Linked DNA regions of Homo sapiens: region 1 is linked to region 2. Evidence: promoter capture Hi-C in 16 types of primary human blood cells and fetal thymus (Javierre and others, 2016). All regions are on one chromosome and are shown on one strand. Each heading gives the region's core, a stretch centred on a gene start or on the middle of the fragment in contact. The rest is flanking DNA. Distances are from core to core; before and after follow the strand shown.

Evidence for each region. Contacts are between HindIII fragments. The CHiCAGO score rates a contact against its expected background, and 5 or more counts as called.
Region 1: a fragment that was not itself captured here is called in contact with the fragment with the promoter of GSAP in region 2 in 1 of 17 cell types (total B cells); the score reaches 5.3 in total B cells.

The regions. Positions count from the first base shown.
Region 1 is chr7:77,934,999-77,940,531 of GRCh38, forward strand. PHTF2 (putative homeodomain transcription factor 2) reads left to right here. Exons shown (of 19, transcript NM_001395272.1): 12 at 2,712-2,840; 13 at 5,032-5,304; 14 at 5,530-5,533. Among named protein-coding and RNA genes, the nearest start is that of DDX3ILA1, 53 kb to the right of the region's middle. The HindIII fragment of the contact is 3,332 bases long and covers 826-4,157 here.
Region 2 is chr7:77,412,551-77,418,684 of GRCh38, forward strand. It overlaps GSAP (gamma-secretase activating protein), which reads right to left and starts at 3,799. Exons shown (of 31, transcript NM_017439.4): 1 at 3,663-3,799. The coding sequence starts at 3,771. LOC101927243 (a long non-coding RNA gene) reads left to right here and starts at 2,648. Exons shown (of 5, transcript NR_110073.1): 1 at 2,648-2,798. RefSeq lists silencers at 2,965-3,254, 3,315-3,524, 3,745-4,094. The HindIII fragment of the contact is 1,753 bases long and covers 3,248-5,000 here.

The DNA.
Region 1 (5,533 bases), core at 1,242-3,741, 520 kb after region 2:
AAAATTATAAAATGAAATTATTTGCTCTGATGTTTTCCCTGAACCTTTTAAAAAAAATTTCATGTGATGCTGTTCTCCACACTGCAGACATGATTCAACAAGACTGTTTTTCAGTGTACATTCCCCCCCCCCACACACACACACAGAGGAATATAGCAGTCTTTTTTATTTATTTTTTCAAGTTTCTACACACAACATTGAACATGTAATTTACCCTTTTTTTTTTTTTTTTTTTTTTTTTTCAGACGGAGTCCCACTCTGTCGCCCAGGCTGGAGTGCAGTGGCGCGATCTCGGCTCACTTCAAGCTCTGCCTCCCGGGTTCACGCCATTCTCTTGCCTCAGCCTCCCCAGTACCTGGGACTACAGGCACCAGCCACCATGCCTGGCTGATTTCTTTTTGTATTTTTAGTAGAGACGGGGTTTCACCGTGTTAGCCAGGATGGCTACTATCTCCTGACCTCGTGATCCGCCCACCTCAGCCTCCCAAAGTGCTGGGATTACAGGCGTGAGCCACCGCGCCCGGCGTAATTAACTCTTTTAAAATTCACCAGTTTCTAGTTGCTGTCTTCTCTTTTGCCTTTTGGCATTCTAGAAATAATGTAATATCAGATGCTGGATAGAGTAATTGGCAAGGTAGCTAGATGTAAAAGGAGTGCTTTTGGGAGGACAATGAGAATGTCCTGATTTCCTATTTCTGTCTCTAGATGGGCTTTCTTGGTATTGATATTCCTTTCTTCATGTAATTAGGAAGACCTTAATTCACTATTCCAGACTGAGAGTTTAAAAATGTCTGTAAATCAGTGGTTGAAATCTGTTGGCTCTCAAGCTTAAACTTCTTTCCTTTTAGCTTCTTGCACTTCCTGTTTCTGGCTTTTTGGTTTCCTTACGCTTAACAATTGTAAAATTTCTAGTGAAAGTTTGATACATATTTTGGTACAGATTATTTCTTTCCCAAAACAGAATATTTTGTTTGGAGATAAATGAGGAAATAACATTTGAGAAATTAAGTTGGTAGTTAATAACTAGTATCTTAGCACTCTTCAGGACCTCAAGTAGTGAAATGTATACCATGAAAGTTAAAGTATATTAAAATCCTTCATCTCTAGAAAAGATAAAAATTTCCCACCTCTTTTTTTTTACATTATTGAATTATTATTATTCAACTTTAGTTGAAATTAATCAATGCAACTTTACTCCCCCTAGAGGAAAGTGTTAAAAGTTTACAAGAAACATTTTTTTTACCATATTTTAATCACATTTTTGTCCTCTAAAGAATAAATGTACCTAGAGTAGATTCTTCTGTTCATTGTTAGAAGTTATATTTAATGAAATATTTTATAAAATTTGAGGTTGCTACGAATGCCAAAACTATTGTTTTTAGAAAATGTGGGAAGTGGCCAGACACCGTGGCTCACGCCTGTAATCCCAGCACTTTGGGAGGCTTAGGTGGGCAGATCACAAGTTCAGGAGTTCGAGACCAACCTGGTCAACATGGTGAAACCCCGTCTCTACAAAAATTTAAAGATTAGCTGGGCGTGGTGGTGGGCGCCTATAGTCCCAGCTACTTGGGAGGCTGAGGCAGGAGAATCACTTGAACCTGGGAGGCGGAGGTTGCAGTGAGCTGAGATCGCACCATTGCACTCCAGCCTGAGTAACAGAGCAAGACTCCGTCTCAAAAAACAAAATGTGGGAAGTATATGAGTCCTTAAAAATACACTAGAAATACTGCAATATAAACAAGCAAACTGATCTCTATCTGGGTTTAATCTTTTAGTGTTACTTCTCCTCTTGAAGTCTGATTATATAAAGGTTTAGTGTTTCATTAATTTTGTTGCCATCATTAACTCAACTGTTCTGTTTTGGGGCTGGGCGCAGTGGTTCACACCTGTAATCCCAGCACTTTGGGAGGTAGAGGCCGGTGGATCACCTGAGGTCAGGAGTTAGAGACCAGCCTGGCCAACATGGTGAAACCCCGTCTCTACTAAAAATAAAAAAATTAGCCAGGCATGGTGGCAGGTGCCTGTAGTCCGAGCTACTCAGGAGGCTGAGTGCTTCAGTTTTGTAATATTTGCTTTATCTGGAAAAAAAAAAAAAGTTAAATGGGTCCTTTGGAGAAATGCTGGATTAAAATATCAGAAAAGTAACTAAATCAGATATTAAACGTTAAATATGTAAGGAAGAGTCTTTTTTGGGATAAGACTAGCACTATATGGTCTTTCAAAGAGATTCAAATCTCAGCTGTCATATTCTTTTTTAATGATCATAAGTTGGACAATGATTACTATGAACAAGTTGATATCCATTTGTCTTTTAGCATTAGTATATTGCAGCTGTGTAGACTGACAACTAAGTACTTTTGCTGACATGTTTTAGTATATTTTTGAACATAGGTTGACTAATACTTGTTACAGAAAGTTCTCAACTTGTACAGTTTCATAACCATGTAACTTCTTATGATATCTGTTCAGTGTATATGCTAACTAATTTTAAGATAGAATTTTAGTGTCTTAGAGTTGTGTGTATAAATATATTAGCTGTGCACAGATCTATATATTCCATTTATAAAACATGATAAATATATTCACCAATTTTTATTTTTAGTGTCATTAAAATTGTGTGTGTATATAGAGATATATATACAACTTTATATACACACATTTTATTTATTAAATGTGATCTATATATTTACTAATTTTTTTTTTTTTTATAGAGTCATTTGCCCTGGCTCCATAGTTCCCACCCAGGATTAGAAAAAATAAGTGCTATAGTATGGGAAGGTAATGATTGTAAGAAAGCAGACATGTCTGTACTTGAAATCAGTGGAATGATAATGAACAGAGTGAGTTTTTAAATTTTATTCTTGTAGTTCAAGGGTAAGACTTAGTAATTATATATAAGATAATTACTGGAATATTATATTAGTAACCTTCTGACCTCATTTCTTCACCCTGAAAAAAAAGTTACATGTGTGTATTTGTTTCTGTCTGTAATTTAAACAGTGATTTGTCACCAAACCACTCTCATCTTCTAGTGTTTTCACTTATCTGACCAAGAATAGATGATACGGTCTATAATTTTTCTCTTTTATCTTTTTCTTTCTTTTGAAATTCAGGAGCTTGTTAGATATATACAGGTGTTAATAAAGACTTTTCTTTGGACTAGAGATTGTTGTTACAAGAACTTTAAAAATAAAAAAATAATTAAAAAGACTTATTTTTCTGTATCATTCTTACTGGTTCATTTGTTTAATAGGACTTAAGACATGAAAAAATCAAACTAGTAAATTTGCATTCATACTTGCTTACCTACTTAAATATATAGAAGTAATGCAGATAGTGGTAAAAGTCTTGAGTAGTTCAAAGAAGTCTAATTGAAATACTGTGGATTAAAATTTTATTTTCTATTATTTCTTTTTTCAGATAATTACTGATTTTTAAAATGTGTTGATTGGCCGGGCGCGGTGGCTCACGCCTGTAATCCCAGCACTTTGGGAGGCTGAGGCGGGCGGATCACAAGGTCAGGAGATCGAGACCATCCTGGCTAACATGGTGAAACCCCGTCTCTACTAAAAATACAAAAAAATTAGCCAGGCGTGGTGAAACCCTGTCTCTACTAAAAATACAAAAAATTAGCCGGGCGTGGTGGCGGGCGCCTGTAGTCCCAGCTACTCGGGAGGCTGAGGCAGGAGAATGGCATTAACCTGGGAGGCGGAGCTTGCAGTGAGCCAAGATCACGCCACTGCACTCCAGCCTGGGCGACAGAGCGAGACTCCGTCTCAAAAAATAAATAAATAAAAATAAAATAAAATAAAATGTGTTGATTTCTCTGGACTTGTTTTTAACTTGCAATTTCTAAATTTCTTTGGTGCATTATTGTGCTTGAACTCTTCTCCACACTTTGTGTAAGACAGGAATTATAATAACTGGGTCTAGAAATTGATAATACTCCCTATAACATATCTCAGTGTGAGCAATTAAAAGCAGTTGACGGGGAAGTCTCTGGAATCTTGGATCTAGTTTGTGCTCTGTAACTTAATTACCTGTGAATTGGCAGATCACTTAACTTACAATGGTCTCATTTATCTAATATATATTATAAAAAGTTGGCTACATGATAGTTAAGATCTCTTTTAGTTCTGCCAGTCTAGCATACTGGAAGCTTTTATATTGTCCCATTATCTAATTTCCTTTTTTAAAATAATTCCCTCACCTTTTTCCCTTTCTGTTTAATTTCTTCTTCCTTCTATCATCTCTCTTCTAAAATGCTTTTAGAGTTTAAGGAGACACTTATTTATATATTGGACTATTCAAAGAGAAATGTAAGCGGCTGGGTGTGTTGGCTTATGCCTGTAATCTCAACACTTTGGGAGCTAGAGGAGGGATGATCGCTTGAGCCCAGGAGTTAAAGACCAGCCTGAGCAACATAGTGAAACCCTGTCTTTACATCTCTACAAAACCCAAAAAATTAGCTGGGGGCGGTGGTGTATACCTGTAGTCCCAGCTACTAGGAATGCTGAGTTGGGAGGGATCACTTGAGCCCATTATTGTGCCACTGTACTCCAGCCTGGGCAATAGAGTGAGACCCTGTCTCAAAAAAAAAAAAAAAAAAAGAAAACAGAAAGAAAACCTCAAGTTACAAATGTACAAACGTATGAAATAAGTGTAATGCTGAGTTTTTTCTTCAATGAACTGAATTTCAGTGGATATGAGATCTCATTCTCTTTAATATTGCAGTATTTATGAATATTTCTAACTTGAAATAATGAAATACATAAATTTTTTTCAAGATCTGGATGACAGTCCTTTTGCCATCTACTTAGTAAATTAGCGATCTGATAATTGTTTTTAAGATCTGAAGAATTAATGACATTTTATATGTAGTAGGCTCTCAAACTTGAATGGGATTCAAATTACTCAGAATGAGTATATTTTAACAAATGATTTCATATTGCTATAAATAATTCTACTGTAGATAAAATTTATGGTATAATTTTATTTTTCTTTTCTCTCTCTTCCCCTGGCTCCCTCAAGGTGAACAGCCATATACCAGGAATAGGATACCAGATTTTTGGAAATGCAGTCTCTCTCATACTGGGTTTAACTCCATTTGTTTTCCGACTTTCTCAAGCTACAGACTTGGAACAACTCACAGCACATTCTGCTTCAGAACTTTATGTGATTGCATTTGGTTCTAATGAAGATGTCATAGTTCTTTCTATGGTTATAATAAGTTTTGTGGTTCGCGTGTCTCTTGTGTGGATTTTCTTTTTTTTGCTCTGTGTAGCAGAAAGAACTTATAAACAGGTGGGTATAATGTAGACTTCCGAATAAGAATATTTTATCGTTTTCATAATATTAAAAGTATTCCTGAAGTACTTTATTATTTCATTATATCATTTTTACCTAATTATTTTTTATTTTGCTTTTATAGTACCTAACCAAATAAAATCTTAACAATTCATATTTTGTTAATTTTGTTTTTCTGTGGTAATCTACTTGAAAATTAATCCTCATCTTAATCTTTTTTAGCGAT
Region 2 (6,134 bases), core at 2,549-5,048:
ACAAACCGAAACAGAAGTGACAGATTGAGAGAAAAATATTTGCAACACGTGATAAAGAACTATAATCCCAAAAACATAACCCCTAAAATAATCAATTAAAAAAAATAGGAAAGTGGACAAAAGGATGAATAGACATTTCACAGGCAGGGAGATTCAAGTGGCCAGTAAATACATAGAGATGCTCAACCTCGGAGCACAATGAAATAATTAATCCTACCAGTTTGACAAAAAAAAAAAAAAAAAAATTAAATTTTGAGCTGTCACGGGCTTGTGAGGATAGTGAGTATCAGAAACATTTCCACACCACAAATCAGAGTGTTAATAAGTACAACACTCTGGAAAACAATTTGGCACTGCCCAGGAAAGACGAAGATGTGCACAGCCTATGACTTAGCAACTCTACTTTTAGACGTACATTCTAGAGAAACATATGCCTGTGTGCACCAGGTGGTTAGTAAGAGTACTGACCATACAGCAAACCCCAGAAACCCCCCAAAAGCCACCCACTGGAAAAATAAGTTGGGTTCCCCAGGATGCACTCTGAGACAGAGTTTAGTACCCAGTATGTTCATCAGGGAGTGCTCAGGAAAGTGGGATTAACACCCTTAAGAGGAAGGAGAAGGAAGCAAGTCCTGGTAGGTGAGAAGTCCAGTAGCAACGCAGGCCCAATATCCTCAGGTGACCTTGGGTCCCTCAAAGAGGAAGCTTCGGAACTGAAATGGAGTTGTCCCATGTTCAGTCAAAATGGCCAGGCCTTTAAAGCCCACTCAGTTTCACGTGGTCCATACCCAAAAGGAAGTGAAGTTGGGTAGGGCAGCCCTCTTGGCAGGCAATCCCTGAAGGGGCTGACAGCTGAAGACTGCCTGCTGACTATACTCACAGCACCTGGGACAAGCTGTTCTTTGAAAGGAAAATCTAAGGGGTGCATCTCCATGTCCACCATCGTGTTGAATTCACACTATGGAACACTATATAGCATTAATTAATACAAATTAATAACCTGCAGCTAGCCAGTCAATATGGGTAAATCTCACAATATTGAGAAGGAAAATAAGCAAAAGGAATGCATACAGTATGTTTAAAGTTCACAGGCAAGCAAAATGAAATATTTTGCCCATACATATAGGCTAAAACTACAAATAAAGTCAAAGTAATGTTAAAATATAAAAATGTAAATGGTTGCCAACCTAGGAGGTGAGGATGAGAGAAAGAAATAGAATCAGAAAGGAGCACATAAGAGACTTCAAGAGTCTTGACATTGCTCTGTTTTTAAGCTGGGTAGTGGATACACGGTTTTACTTCGGTGGTTTTTTTCTTTCTTTTATCATTTACAGCTACCTGTTAAAATATTCTTTTATGTAGTTGTTTTGATTTTTAACAAATATCTTCTTTTATTTCAGGAGAAACTGTTTTCTCAAAAGTTCAACCCAGAACCAGGAGCAAATGCAGTAACCAAATCTGTTCTCCTTCCTCCTTGACCCCTTATTGACCAAAATGCTTACAGGCACAGAATTTCCATGGCTGACTCAGCCCAGCTCTCTGTTTTGCCAGGAATATATCATACATATCTCATGAGAATTACTTAGCACCTCTAAGAAAACTTCAATTGTATTTGTTGATGTAAAAACATTAAGGCTTCAAATTCAGAAAGCAAGTATGCATAGAGGAGGCATTACAATGGTATAGTAATTCATAATTTACATTTGAAAAGCCAGAACTTTGAAAGGATAATGATTTCCACAAATGTGTGTTGTAACTGCTGTGCTAGAAATGAGACAGAATCCCAGATTTCCCTGCCACTGCTATAAATTACAGAACAGGAATTAATTTGTGTGGGGGTATTTTTGAGCTACCACCCACTGGTGATTATCAGAGGTGATAATTCTCTTAGTATAACAGGGCTAATATCTTACCAAGATATTTGCTCTGAAAGAGCAAAATACTACCAGTATCAGAAAAGCTAGTATTTCCAGAAAGTACCTTCTGAGGACCTAGAGCTATCTGTTGTTTAGTGGAAGGTCAATACACAAGTTTATATTTCTTCAGAGATGAGCGAAAGATACAAGGAAGCCAGGTCCCAGTGGGTCACACACAGCTTTTCAAGCACGACACACATTACGGAAACATAAGACTGTGGCATTTCACACTCATCTAACTTCTCATTTGCAGACACCTGCCATTTAGCAAAATAAAGTGGGAGTCCAGAAAAAGGAGTACTTGGTAGTAGAAGACAGAGCTGCCTGTTGTATTTCAAAAAGTTAAGCCTTCAAAAACTTTTCAGACATGTGGGCGACTTTTTTTTTTTTTTTTTTTTTTTTTTTTTTTGAGACGGAGACTTACTCTGTTGCCCAGGCTGGAGTGCAGTGGCGAGATCTCGGCTCACTGCAACCTCTGCCTCCCAGGTTCAAGCGATTCTCCTGCCTCAGCCTCCCGAGTAGCTGGGATTACAGGAGCGTGTCACCACGCCCAGCTAATTTTTGTATAAAATTCTTCCTTGACCACCCTCTCCACCTCGAAAAAAAGTAAAGCCTTACTAAGCATGACACTAATGCAAACTCAATGCATACGCTACACAAACATATAACTCCTTATTTGGAGCTAATAATATTCCAAGCCAAGGAAACCTACAAATAATTTCGCTATAGTCATAGGAGAGTGTGAAGATACAAGATAGCAACTTGATATATAACTCACATCAAGAAAACTTTCACCAGCGTTTAAGGGAAAGGAGTTGTAGATGTGGGTCATTTAATACCCACTTCCAAATTCACTGAAGTGGACAGCGCCCTACACACAAGGTGAGACCTACAGGCATCATTGCTTTGAAGCTGCATTTAAGCTCTGAAGCTCCAATATTTATAGAAGACTTTTAAAACTTTGTAAGAAATCACAAAGTTCCCCTTCTTTAAAACAGATCAGTGCTGGGAAGGCTCAAAAGTCACTTTCACTCCCTTACCAAATCATCAAAAAGCCCGGAGTGGCAGGGCCGGGAGCCGAGCATCTCGCGCGCAGCCCCAGCCTGCACAGGTGCGGAGCTCGGGGGCGGCTGGGGGCTCTCGCCCCGCCGCGCGCAGCCTGGAGGCGGCCCCTGCCCTCTTGCGCCTCACCGCCGAGGCCCATGTCCCCTGAGCCACGGACACGGTTCAACAGACACATAAACACGTCTCGCAAATGTGGGGACAAACTGTTCCACCGTTAGGTATAGGGTGGTTTGCTTGGTGGTCACGGATTCTTTCTCAAAACGTGAAGCTTCCAGGAGCACTCCTGTCTTGGCAAAGCCCCTGCGCTGCCGATGAACCCCCCGGGAGGTGGGATGCGGCCGCTGAGCTGAGCACGACCCTCTGCCCTCGCCGTGAGGTGATGCTGAGGGAACCGCCAGCGGCCCGGCCCCTCTGCCAAGGGCGAATTTCCGCGGGCCGGCAGCGAGCCAGGCGCCTCAGGCCCCACGGCGACCTGGCCCGGGCTCTGCCCCCAGACCTTCCGCCGTGGCTGGGTGTGGGTGGCAAAGCCAAAACAGCCCTCTGAGGAGGGGAGCGACGCCCTCGCACCAGCCTTCTCAGGGCGGCGACGCCCCGGGTTGCTCCCCACCGGGTCGGAGTCCGGGGGGTATGAGGGACTCCCACTCCCCGCCCCCACCCCTCTCCGCAGCGCGCCTCCCGCACCTGCGCCGCCGCTTCCGGCCCCGCTGGCCTCCGACACTGCCCGCTGCGCCCGCAACCACGGGAGCACGTCCTTCCCGAGGTCGAAGTCGGCGACCAGGCGAAGAGCCATCGCCCGGACACGACCACCGGGCGGCTCTGGGGCCCCGCACCGCGGGCATTCCCGGCCCCGCGTGGCCGCCTCGCCCTCGCGTCCCCGCTCCCGCCCCCTCTTTCCTCTCCCCCGCCCCCTGCTGCTTTCGGTTCTGCAGCGCCCTGGCCTGAGAAGCTCCGGCACCAGCTCCTCCCGGCCGGCGGCCCGCACCTGAGCCGGAGCCGGAGCCGGGCACGGCGGGTAGCGGTGGGGCGGGGTGGACCAGGCGCCAGGACCAGGCCCGCCGGGGCGGGAGGCCTCCGCGCGCACCTTCGGGGCTGAGGATAGAGGGCGCAAAGACGTGGGCGCTTCAGGGCCTTGGCGAGGCCGCTAGCCCAGTGGCTTCCAAACCTGGAGGGTCGGCCTATTTTCTTTATTCTACAAGTGCCTCCACTGTGCAGCAAAGTGTGGAAACCACTTGGCTTGAGAGAGCTGGGTCCTCTGGAGCAGTTCAGGGTCACCACAGAAGTAGGCCGTCTCTTGGGCCTATTCGCCCCAGCTTCGAGGTGGTGGTGCTTTATTAGTGTTATTAAGGTAATGAGTAGCAACTGGGAGCGTATGACGAAGGTGATCCCATTGTAAGAGAAACGCTAAAAGGGGTTAATGCGCTTGATACAAACAGCGTCCTTTTTGCCTTTTAACTCTAGTACATCTCATTTGATGCCTTGAGACATGAAAACTGAATCTTAAGTCTCCACGCAAACCCTCTGCCTCCCACCAGGGTCTAACAGAGCACTCTGGAAGGTGCTCGACAATTACTGAAGAATGAGTGAATACAGTAATAAAGAATGCTTTTTCACATGCTTCCGAAATTAAGGTCTGAAAACTACTTGTATTGACGTCATCTGGGGCACTATTTTACAATGCAGACTCCTGATCTCTACACCTGGACAAGACCAGAAACGTGCATTTTACCCAGAGCCTCGGGTGATTCTTAGGCTTACTAAGTTTGAAAACTACTCCAACCAAATGTAAAAGAAAGTCTTGAATTTTTTTCCCTCCTAGAGACATGTTTCTCCAACTGAGGTAATGGATGATTTCAGGTAGAACTCCATTACTCACCACCATATACAGAGGAAAGTCCTCCCACCCGGGAAGTGCATGCAAATTTAAGATAAATGCCTAATGAAGCTGCTAATATTATCAGTGAATAAAAGGAAGGCCACTGGAGCCCCCAAGGAGCTAATGCAACTATTTCATATCAAATAAGCTTGTTGCCTTTGTCATACAGAAACACTGTTGGCCAATTTTTTAAAGTCAGTACATTTCCATTGTTTTTATTTTTGCAGTTAACTTCTATTTTTGCCAGGCAGGACTGATTTTATAGTCAAGCAGTGATGATATAAAAAATTCTCTTCAAATTAAGTGAAAAAGCCAATGTAAAGAAGGTGAGAAACAATAAGATAATGATAGAAAGATGTGGCCAAAATCATGAGGGTGCTATATGAAGGCATGTGTATCAGTTAGGATTAGATTCTCCAGAAGTTAATAAGAACTCAGATTAACAGTAAATTAAACACACAAGTTTTATTCTGTCACCTAGCTGGACGTAGGCAGAATAAAGCTCTTAGGGCAGGTTCCTGAATTTATCAGGGACCCAGGCTCCTTCCAGTTCTTTGCTCCACCTGATCCTGAGTGTACCCTTGTCCTCATGATCAAAGAGGGCTGCAGAAGCTTCAGCCTTCACGTCTGCATTCCAGAAATCAGAATGGAAGAAGAGGAATAAAAAGAGGATGCTACCTCTCTTTTAAGGATACTTCCCGGAAGTTCTACACAACATTTCTACGTATGTTTCACTCACCAGAATTTAGTCACATGGCCAAATGTAGCTTTCAAGGGAGGCAAGGAAATATACCTGGCCATTGCTGTGCCCAGATAAAAATCAGGACGGTATTACTGAAGAAGGTGGGGAAAGTAGATATTCAGAAGCAATTAGAGATCTCTGTCAGAGTATGATACCCGATTCCGGCCACTGAGTTGTAAGGAAACCTCTGCTATGACAGATTTCTCTATTCTTAAAACAAGAGACATGGGAAAAGATGGTCCCTTTCAGTCTTTAACTATTTCGGGATCTAGATATGATTGCTGGAATTTCAGCCATCTAGCACACTGAAAATGGAGTCATTGGAGTCAGGAGAGTCCAGAGAACTGCAGAGAAGAGAAACCTTGGTAAATTATTTTTGGAGCCATCCTCTGCCCTTTCTGATATTAGAGATGTTGAATTTCCTATTGTTTAAATGATATTCAGTCAGACTTTTATTTTACTTGCAACCAAGGGTTTCAATTTTAAGGAGTGATCATTTCAAAATTTAGGGCACAGGCCAAAGAGCACTATAATAATA